Regions from separate parts of the Homo sapiens genome. Here regions 1 and 2 are each linked to region 3. The links are contacts of gene promoters, found by promoter capture Hi-C in blood cells and fetal thymus (Javierre and others, 2016). All regions are on one chromosome and are shown on one strand. Each heading gives the region's core, a stretch centred on a gene start or on the middle of the fragment in contact. The rest is flanking DNA. Distances are from core to core; before and after follow the strand shown.

The links. The method cuts DNA at HindIII sites, captures the fragments that hold promoters and counts their contacts. A CHiCAGO score of 5 or more calls a contact.
Region 1: a contact is called between a fragment that was not itself captured here and the fragment with the promoter of RHOBTB2 in region 3, in 1 of 17 cell types (total CD4 T cells). The highest score is 5.0, in total CD4 T cells.
Region 2: a contact is called between a fragment that was not itself captured here and the fragment with the promoter of RHOBTB2 in region 3, in 1 of 17 cell types (non-activated CD4 T cells). The highest score is 5.8, in non-activated CD4 T cells.

What each region holds. Positions count from the first base shown.
Region 1 is chr8:22,280,656-22,283,416 of GRCh38, forward strand. It overlaps PIWIL2 (piwi like RNA-mediated gene silencing 2), which reads left to right. Exons shown (of 23, transcript NM_018068.5): 3 at 465-552; 4 at 722-860; 5 at 2,379-2,585. Among named protein-coding and RNA genes, the nearest start is that of PIWIL2, 6.7 kb to the left of the region's middle. The HindIII fragment of the contact is 5,060 bases long and covers 1-2,761 here.
Region 2 is chr8:22,428,542-22,431,241 of GRCh38, forward strand. It overlaps a transcript of SLC39A14 not described here. Among named protein-coding and RNA genes, the nearest start is that of PPP3CC, 11 kb to the right of the region's middle. The HindIII fragment of the contact is 236 bases long and covers 1,217-1,452 here.
Region 3 is chr8:22,998,298-23,000,997 of GRCh38, forward strand. RHOBTB2 (Rho related BTB domain containing 2) reads left to right here and starts at 1,251. Exons shown (of 10, transcript NM_015178.3): 1 at 1,251-1,808. It overlaps RHOBTB2-AS1 (RHOBTB2 antisense RNA 1), which reads right to left and starts at 1,508. Exons shown (of 2, transcript XR_007060857.1): 1 at 1,382-1,508. RefSeq lists silencers at 931-1,190, 1,411-1,580, 1,911-1,960. The HindIII fragment of the contact is 10,673 bases long and covers 1-2,700 here.

The DNA of each region.
Region 1 (2,761 bases), core at 101-2,600, 720 kb before region 3:
GTAGCAGGTTACACAAACCTCTGATACTCATAAATGATCCAGCTTTTTTGAAATGTATTAACCAGTACACTTGTTCTCTCTTGCCTTGAATATGCAGAAAATAGAAAAATGGAAAAGTTCTGTTGCATTTTGTTATACTGTTTATCAAATCAAAATGGAAAAATTAACTCTGTTCTGTTGCATTTTGTTATACTGTTTATCAAATCAAAATGGAAAAGTTAATTCTGTTCTGTTGCATTTTGTTATACTGTACACATCAAATCATGGGCCATAACTGTAACTGTGCTTTAAGACCTAATATTACATAGTTACAGGTATTTTTTAAAGTTTATAAAATGTTTCCCTTTATTCTTATAACATGTATAGAATTTGAAGATGATTTTATTATATACCAAGACTAAGAAAGCCCTTGTTTCTGGGGTTTTAAACTACCTCTTAGAACTTTATTCTTTGACTTTCCACAGGAGTCTGTGGGTTTGGTCTCCATGTTCCGAGGCCTGGGCATTGAAACAGTTTCTAAGACCCCTCTGAAACGGGAAATGCTTCCATCAGGTATGTGGAAAACTAACTTGAGAAATTTGGTGGTATGTATGATTGGTTTCTTCTAAAATCCAAATGGTTTATTTTCAGAAACGTAACTGTGCTTTTTTTAAAAAAAAAAACTATACTTTAAAACACGTTTAAGTCATAGTCATTGCTGGGGTTCGGTTCTTTCTTTCAGGTAGAGGCATTTTAGGTCGAGGCTTGTCTGCTAATCTGGTACGCAAGGACAGGGAGGAACTCTCTCCCACTTTTTGGGATCCAAAAGTGTTGGCGGCTGGGGACAGCAAGATGGCAGAGACCTCCGTTGGTTGGAGTAGGTGGGTAAAGTTACCCTCTCAGGTAACTATCAAATTCAGATGGAATATCTCTGTAAGTTCAGAGAGCAACTCTAAGAAGAGTTGTGTCATCTCATAATCAATGTCTGGTTTTATATTAAAGAATGCATATTTCTCAAGAGTAGTCAGCAGCTGTTAACACAGCTAGGCATTGGAAAAGGGTAAGAAGTAGTTCTCCACTGGGCTGTTCAAAAATTCATTTGTCCTCTTAAAAAATTACCCTGATCATGGTGATTTTTTTTTTTTTTTTTTTTTTGAGATGAAGTTTTGCTCTGTCTCCCAAGCTGGAGTGCAATGCCTCAATCTTGGCTCACTGCAACCTCCGCCTCCCAGGTTCAAGCAATTCTCCTGCCTCAGCCTCCCAGGTGTCTGGGACTACAGGCATGTGGCACCATACCCAACTAATTTTTTGTATTTTTAGTAGAGACGAGGTTTCACTGTGTTCGCCAGGCTGGTCTTGAGCTCCTGACCTCAGGCAGTCCACCCACCTCGGCCTCCCAAAGTGCTGAGATTACAGGCATGAGCCCCACTGTGCGTGGACTTTTTTTTTTTTTTTTTTTTTTAAGGGATGGGGTCTCACTGTGTTGACCGGGCTGGAATGCAGTGGGGCAATCTTGGCTCACTGCAACCTCCACCTCCCAGGTTCAAGCGATTCTCCTGCCTCAGTGTGCCGAGTAGCTGGGACTACAGGTGTGCGCCACCACACCCGGCTTTTTTTTTTTTTTTTTTTTTTTTTTTGGAGACAGTCTCACTCTGTCACCAGGCTGGAGTGCAGTGGCACGATCTTGGCTCACTGCAACCTCCGCCTCACACCCAGCTAATTTTTGTATTTTTAGTAGAGACGGGGTTTCATCTTATTAGCCAGGTTGGTCTCAAACTCCTGACATCAGGTAATCCTCCCGCCTTGGCTTCCCAGAGAGCTGGGATTATAGGCGTGAGCCCCTGCACGCAGCCGTGGTGATTCTTTAATAACGTTGAGTCAAACTTTCTCCTCTATTCTGCTATGGAAGATGGCTCTGACAGTCAATAGCAGTTGGTGAATGAGTCATGGTGGCATATGTTGTGTTTTTTTTTTGAAATTCGTTCTATCTCTGTCACCCAGGCTTTAGTGCAGTGGTGTGATCTCAGCTCACTGCAGCCTCGACCTCCCAGGCTGAAGTGATCCTCCCACCTCAGCCACCCGAGTAGCTGGGACTACAGTTATGAGCCACCATACCTGGCTAATTTTTGTATTTTTTATAGTGCGGGGTCTCACTGTATTGTTTAGGCTGGTCTTGAACTCCTGGGCTCAAGCAGTCTCCCCACCTTAGCTTCCCAAAGTGCTAGGGTTACAGGCGTGAGCCACTGTGCCTGGCCTTGGCATATGTAGTTTGAGAGAATTTGAAACTTGGATCCCTTTTGCTGTCTCCTCCAGGAAGAGATTGTGGAGTTGGGGGAATAATCTGGATGGGACATAGCTATTATAAAAAACCCTGATTTGCCTCTCTCTCCACATTTCAGGACGCTTGGAAGAGGGAGTTCAGATGCGTCTTTATTACCACTGGGAAGAGCAGCAGGTGGTATCAGCAGAGAAGTGGACAAGCCTCCCTGTACCTTCAGCACACCGTCCCGGGGTCCCCCGCAGCTGTCATCACCACCAGCTCTGCCCCAGTCTCCCCTGCACTCTCCAGATCGCCCTCTGGTCCTGACTGTGGAACACAAGGAAAAGTAAGTCAGGAGCACTGCCTTCTCTACTTAGTAATGATCGTGAAAACTCTGCATTTTGGCTCGTGTGTAGTATTGTAAAATCTGTTTGTGTTGGGTCCTCCCTGGGTAATAATACTGCGGGGTGTTTTGTTTTTTGCCAGTGGGAGATTGACAAAGAGATAGGACAATTTATTTTT
Region 2 (2,700 bases), core at 85-2,584, 570 kb before region 3:
AAGCGATTCTCCTGCCTCACCCTCCTGAGTAGCTGGGATTACAGGCGCATGCCACCACACCCACCTAATTTTTGTATTTTTGGTAGAGACAGGGTTTCACCATGTTGGCCAGGCTGGTCTCGATCTCTTGACCTTGTGATCCGCCCAGCCTGGCCTCCCAAAGTGCTGGGATTACAGGCATGAGCCACTGCGCCAGGCCAGTTCATGTGTTCTTTTAACATTTTGTTTGAAATGGAGGCTGACTGCATGGAAGACTGCCTTGATCTAACTGATGATTTTGTTTTTTCACTGAAAAACTTAAAGCAGCCTTGTAAACTAGTTTAAATGGGAGAATCCTTGGAAAAGTGTTGATGTTTGGTAATTTTTGAGCAAACGAAGGTAAGAACCAATGCAAACTTACTTCCCCAGAGTTCTGCATTGTGTCTTTGTCTTGAAAAAGAACACAGAATGGCCAGGCGTGGTGGCTCACGCCTGTAATCCTAGCACTTTGGGAGGCCGAGGCGGGTGGATCGCAAGGTCAGGAGATCGAGACCATCCTGGCTAACACGGTGAAACCCCGTCTCTACTAAAAATACAAAAAATTGGCTGGGCGTGGTGGCGGGCACCTGTGGTCCCAGCTACTCGGGAGGCTGAGGCAGGAGAATGGCATGAACCCGGGAGGCAGAGCTTGCAGTGAGCCAAGATCTCACCACTGCACTCCAGCCTGGGCGACAGAGCCAGACTCCGTCTCAAAAACAAACAAACAAAAAAAGAACACAGGATTTTGCATCCATAGGAATGGATTCATGTCAATTCCATCATTGACTATCTGTGTGATCTCTAACATGTTTAACCTCTCTGCACCTCAATATTTTTATGAAGTAGAAATTATAATTTTATACTGCCTACCTTATAAGGTAGGTATAAGTATAATGAGAAGTAAATATGCAAAATGTTTTAGAAATTAAAGCTCTGTACTAGTAGTAATTAACATTTTGTTCTTTGGATTCCTTTGAGAATCTGAAAAATACATGATTGCTCATACACACTCATAGCATGTGTAAATATACTCCAACCTTTAATTTCATTTATAATTGGGAGCAGCATGGGGATGGGAGGTAGACGAGAAGGGAATGATCTCCTGAAGCCCCTGTGCCCCAGGTGAAAAACTTCTGCTGCAGACAAGAGTAAGATGAAATCCATTCATTCAACAAATTGTTGAGCTCCAACTCTGCCAAGCTTGGCATGACATAGCAGTGAAAGATCCTTCCCTTAAGGAGTGAGGGGAAATAAACAAAAACCAAGTGCTACAGATAAATTAACACGGGGGAGTGAGGTAGGGAATGGGCAGACAGGGATAGAGGTGATCAGGAAAGGGCTCTAACCAGATGACATCTGAGTTGAGCTTTGTGACTGTAGAAGAATGTTCTAAGCCAAAGGGCCGGCCAACGCAAGAATGCTGAGACAGAAATAAGCTTCATCTATTTGAGGCCAGTATGTGTAAACAGCAGAAACAAGGCCAGTCTGTCTGGACTGCAGCAGACATGAGGGAAGAAGGTTGGTGGGAGCTCAAAGTTGACAGGAGTCAGACCACTTCGGGAAAGGAGAAGACATTTGTTTTTGTTTGTTTGTTTTAGAGATGGGGTCAGAGGTCACTGCAGCTTCAAACTCCTGGACTCAAGAGATCCTCCCACCTACCTCAACCAGCCTGGCTAATTTAATTTTTTTTTAGAGACGGGGTCTCACTAAGTTGCCCAGTCTGGTCTCCAAGTCCTGGGCTCAAGTAATCCTGCTGCCTCAGCCTCCCAGAGTGCTGGGATTACAGGCGTGGGCCATCGCCCTTAGACCACAAGAGAGTTTTAACCAGAGGAATGACAAATCAGTTTTATGCTTTAAGTTTAGAAAGATCTGCTGTATAGGAAAATAGACGGTAGGGGGAGGAAGTTGACAGGATACAGTGTGTGGAAAGGCGTCCCTGATTCTAAATTTTTGGTCCAAGCAACTTGAATGCCAGTGCTGTTTACCTTGGTATCTTACCTGTGGAACCACCAAATGTGTTATGTACTGGTTGCCACCATTTTCTCCTGTTCTGCAATGATGCAAACAACAACAGTCACAAGCAGGAAGTGACGGCAGCTTTGGGGCTCCCAATTCTTTTTTTTTCGTTTTGGAGACAGGGTCTTGCTCTGTCGTCCAGGCTGGAGTGCAGTGGTGTGATCTCGGCTCGCTGCAAACTCCACCTCCTGGGTTCAAGCCATTCTCTTGTTTCAGCCTCCTGTGTAGTTGGGATTACAAGCCTGTGCCATCATGCCCAGCTAATCGTTGTGTTTTTAGTAGAAACAAGGTTTTACCATGTTGGCCAGGCTGGTCTTTAACTCCTGGCCTCAAGTAATCCGCCCATCTCGGCCTCCCAAAGTGCTGGGATTATAGGGGCGAGCTGCCGCAGCCGGTCTGGGACTCCCAATTCCCTCTTTTTTTTTTTTTTTTGATGGAGTCTCCCTCTGTTGCCCAGGCTGGAGTGCAGTGGCGTGATCTCAGCTCATTGCAACCTCTGCCTCCTGGGTTCAAACAATTCTCCTGCCTCAGCCTCCTGAGTAGCTGGGACTACAGGCACGTGCCACCACACCTGGCTAATTTTTTGTATTTTTAGTAGAGACAGGGTTTCACTGTGTTAGCCAGGATAGTCTCGATCGCCTGACCTCATGATCCACCTGCCTCAGC
Region 3 (2,700 bases), core at 1-2,500:
TTTGCATTTTCAGAGCACAAGATGGAGGAGTGGTGGAGGCGGTTCAGGTGGGTGGCAGGCTGGTCTGGGCTTTAAAAATTGTCCAGAGGTAACTGAGGAGATGAATCAAACCAGACTGAGCTGACTACTTAACACTAGCAGTCAAGATCATCCTGGCTGGGCATGGTGGCTCACGCCTGTAATCCTAGTACTTTGGGAGGCCAAGGCAGGCAGATCACCCGAGGTCAGGAGTTCGAGACCAGCCTGGCCAAGGTGGTGAAACCCCGTCTCTACCAAAAATACATAAATTAGCTGGGAATAGTGGCGTGCACTTGTAGTCCCAGCTACTCGGGAGGCTGAGGCAGAACTGCTTGAACCCAAGAGGCGGAGGTTGCAGTGAACCAAGATTGCACCACTGCACTCCAGCCTGGGCAACAGAGGGAGACTCAAAAAAAAAAAAAAAAAAAAAAGATTATCCTGATAAAACCAGCCTTGAATATGGAAAGTGTCTTCTAGGGACCCCTCAGGTTATAGATGTTATACCTTAGAATCTCTCTATTTTACAGAGGGGTAAATTGAGGCAGAAAACCCAAAGAAGGCTTAGGGACGATTTTCGAGGCTACTCACTTCATGGTGTTTCTTTCAGAGATTAGCAGCTATTACTGAACTCCAGGAGGCAACAGGAGGGGGATGGGATGGAGGTGGGGACCCGCTGAAGAAGGCCTAGGTGGGAGACAGGTAACGTGGTACAGGTACCCACCCCACAACTCATTAAGGGCCATGGAGGGAGGAAGGCTCTCAAGTGCCACGAAAATTCCCAAAGCAGCAGAGGGCTTGTATGGAAACGCCGGTTATTCGTCCCTACCCGGCCCCCGCCCCCCGCCCCCCCGACTGCCCCTGCCGTCGCCTCCCCGTGGGCAAGTGGTGGGGGCCTGGGCTTACAACCACACGTTCTCCTCCAACTAGCATCCCTTCCAGGGTGCACTAGGATGCCTCTCAGAGGTTCTCCCCCGCCTCCCGAAGGAAAGGGGAAAACCCCGTGGGCGTCCGGAGAGCCTTTGCGCCTCGCCAGGTGGAGGGACCGGCGCCACCCAGACCCGCGAGCCGAGACCCTCCCCGCGGCGTCGCTGCGGGAGGGGCGGAAGAGCGCGGGCGGTGGGCGGGAGCGGTGCTGCGAGGCGGGATCTGCGGGGCGTCCAATCCCCTTCTTCCCCCGCCCGCCCCCTCCCCGCCCCCCGAACGCTTTCCACCAACTGCGCGCGGCAGTGGGCGGGGCCCGTCACGGCTGTCGTCTTGGGTGCGATTTTTTTCTCCTCCTTTTTTTACCCTCCCGTTTTTTTCTTTTCTTTTTTTTTTCCCTATCCTTTTTTTGTGAATGAAAAAAGGAGGTCGCGAGCGGTACCTGGGACTGCAGCGCCAGGCGTCTTCGCGGCAGCGCCTTCGCCGCGGGCCCGGGCGCGTAGCGGCGGCGGCCTCGCCCCTCTCCCGGCGCCCCTGCGCGCCGCCCGCTGCCTCCGCAGCCCGGCTCCGCGCGCCGCCGTGACATTGGGCGCCTGGCGCGCGGGGCGATGCTGATCCGGAAGGGGCAGCGGCTGCAGTGCAGCGCGCGCGTCCGCTCCTGGGCCCACGTCCGGCCTGGGCTGCCCTGCCGGAGTTTCTGAGTGGCCGCGAGCTGGCCGGGAGGCTGGAGCCCAGCAGCAGCGCGGCGGCGCCGGCGTCGTCCCAACTTGCAGGCGCGGAGGGACCCCTGACATTTCACTAAAATGAGCGTGCTCAGCAGGAAGAGATGTGTTCCTCACGCTAGAAGCCACCCCGTCACATGTAGTGGTGTAAGTAGATGGCTGCTTGCGGTTATGGCGGGGTGGCCAGCAGCCCTTGCAGACGCGCCGCTCCGCCCTCCCTGCCCTGCCGCGCCCCTCGCTACGTTCCCCGGGCCCCGCTAGTCCCTGGGCTCTGGCTTCGGCTGCTGGGTACAGCGGGGCTGGAGCCTAATCCTTTCCGGTGTTTCTAGGGAAAGGAAGATGACTTGATTGCTTCGGCCTGTCGTGCCCCTCCCCCTTCTCGATGTTTAAAAATTTTTAAATTTCTATTTTGTGTGTGTGCAGAGTAGCGTGTCAGAAAAAAGGAAAAACGGTCCAGAGTGGTGGGAGTGATTCTGTTAAGAAAACAAACACAAAACAACAGTGGAATTGGGGTGTTTTGCTGGCGGTTCCGGAGCTGGTTCTTTGAACTCAACTCCATTGCAGTCTATGTAACTGAGTTCTGTGAAACTACTGGGGAGATCTTTGGCGGTGTTTGGTGATGTGTCCACATTTTAGGTTTGAGGGGGCTTATCTGTGTTTAGGCTTGCATTTCTTTAATCTGACCATTCAGGGTCCCTTTGGGCCTTGCTTTCTGTTGGATCTGCACGGGGCTTCTTGCAATGCCAGCGACCCCCGTGGGAGCCTCCCCGAATTAGGAGTCCACTCTCTCTTTGTTCTTCTCCTTCCAATTCTCCATTCAATCCATCTCCCTTGATTTTACCTTCATTTTCAGGATTTTCCTCCCATTCCCATTTTGTAAGATGATGTGGGATACTGGTTGCTAGGAGACAAGCCAGGCTCCCAGGGAGATTCTGTTGTTTCCTTGACAACCAGACTAGGGCAGCCACAGATGAACAAGCCTCCTATCAGCTGTGGGAGGGAAAGGGGCCCTTTCTGAGCTCTGCAAAGAGTGTGTGTA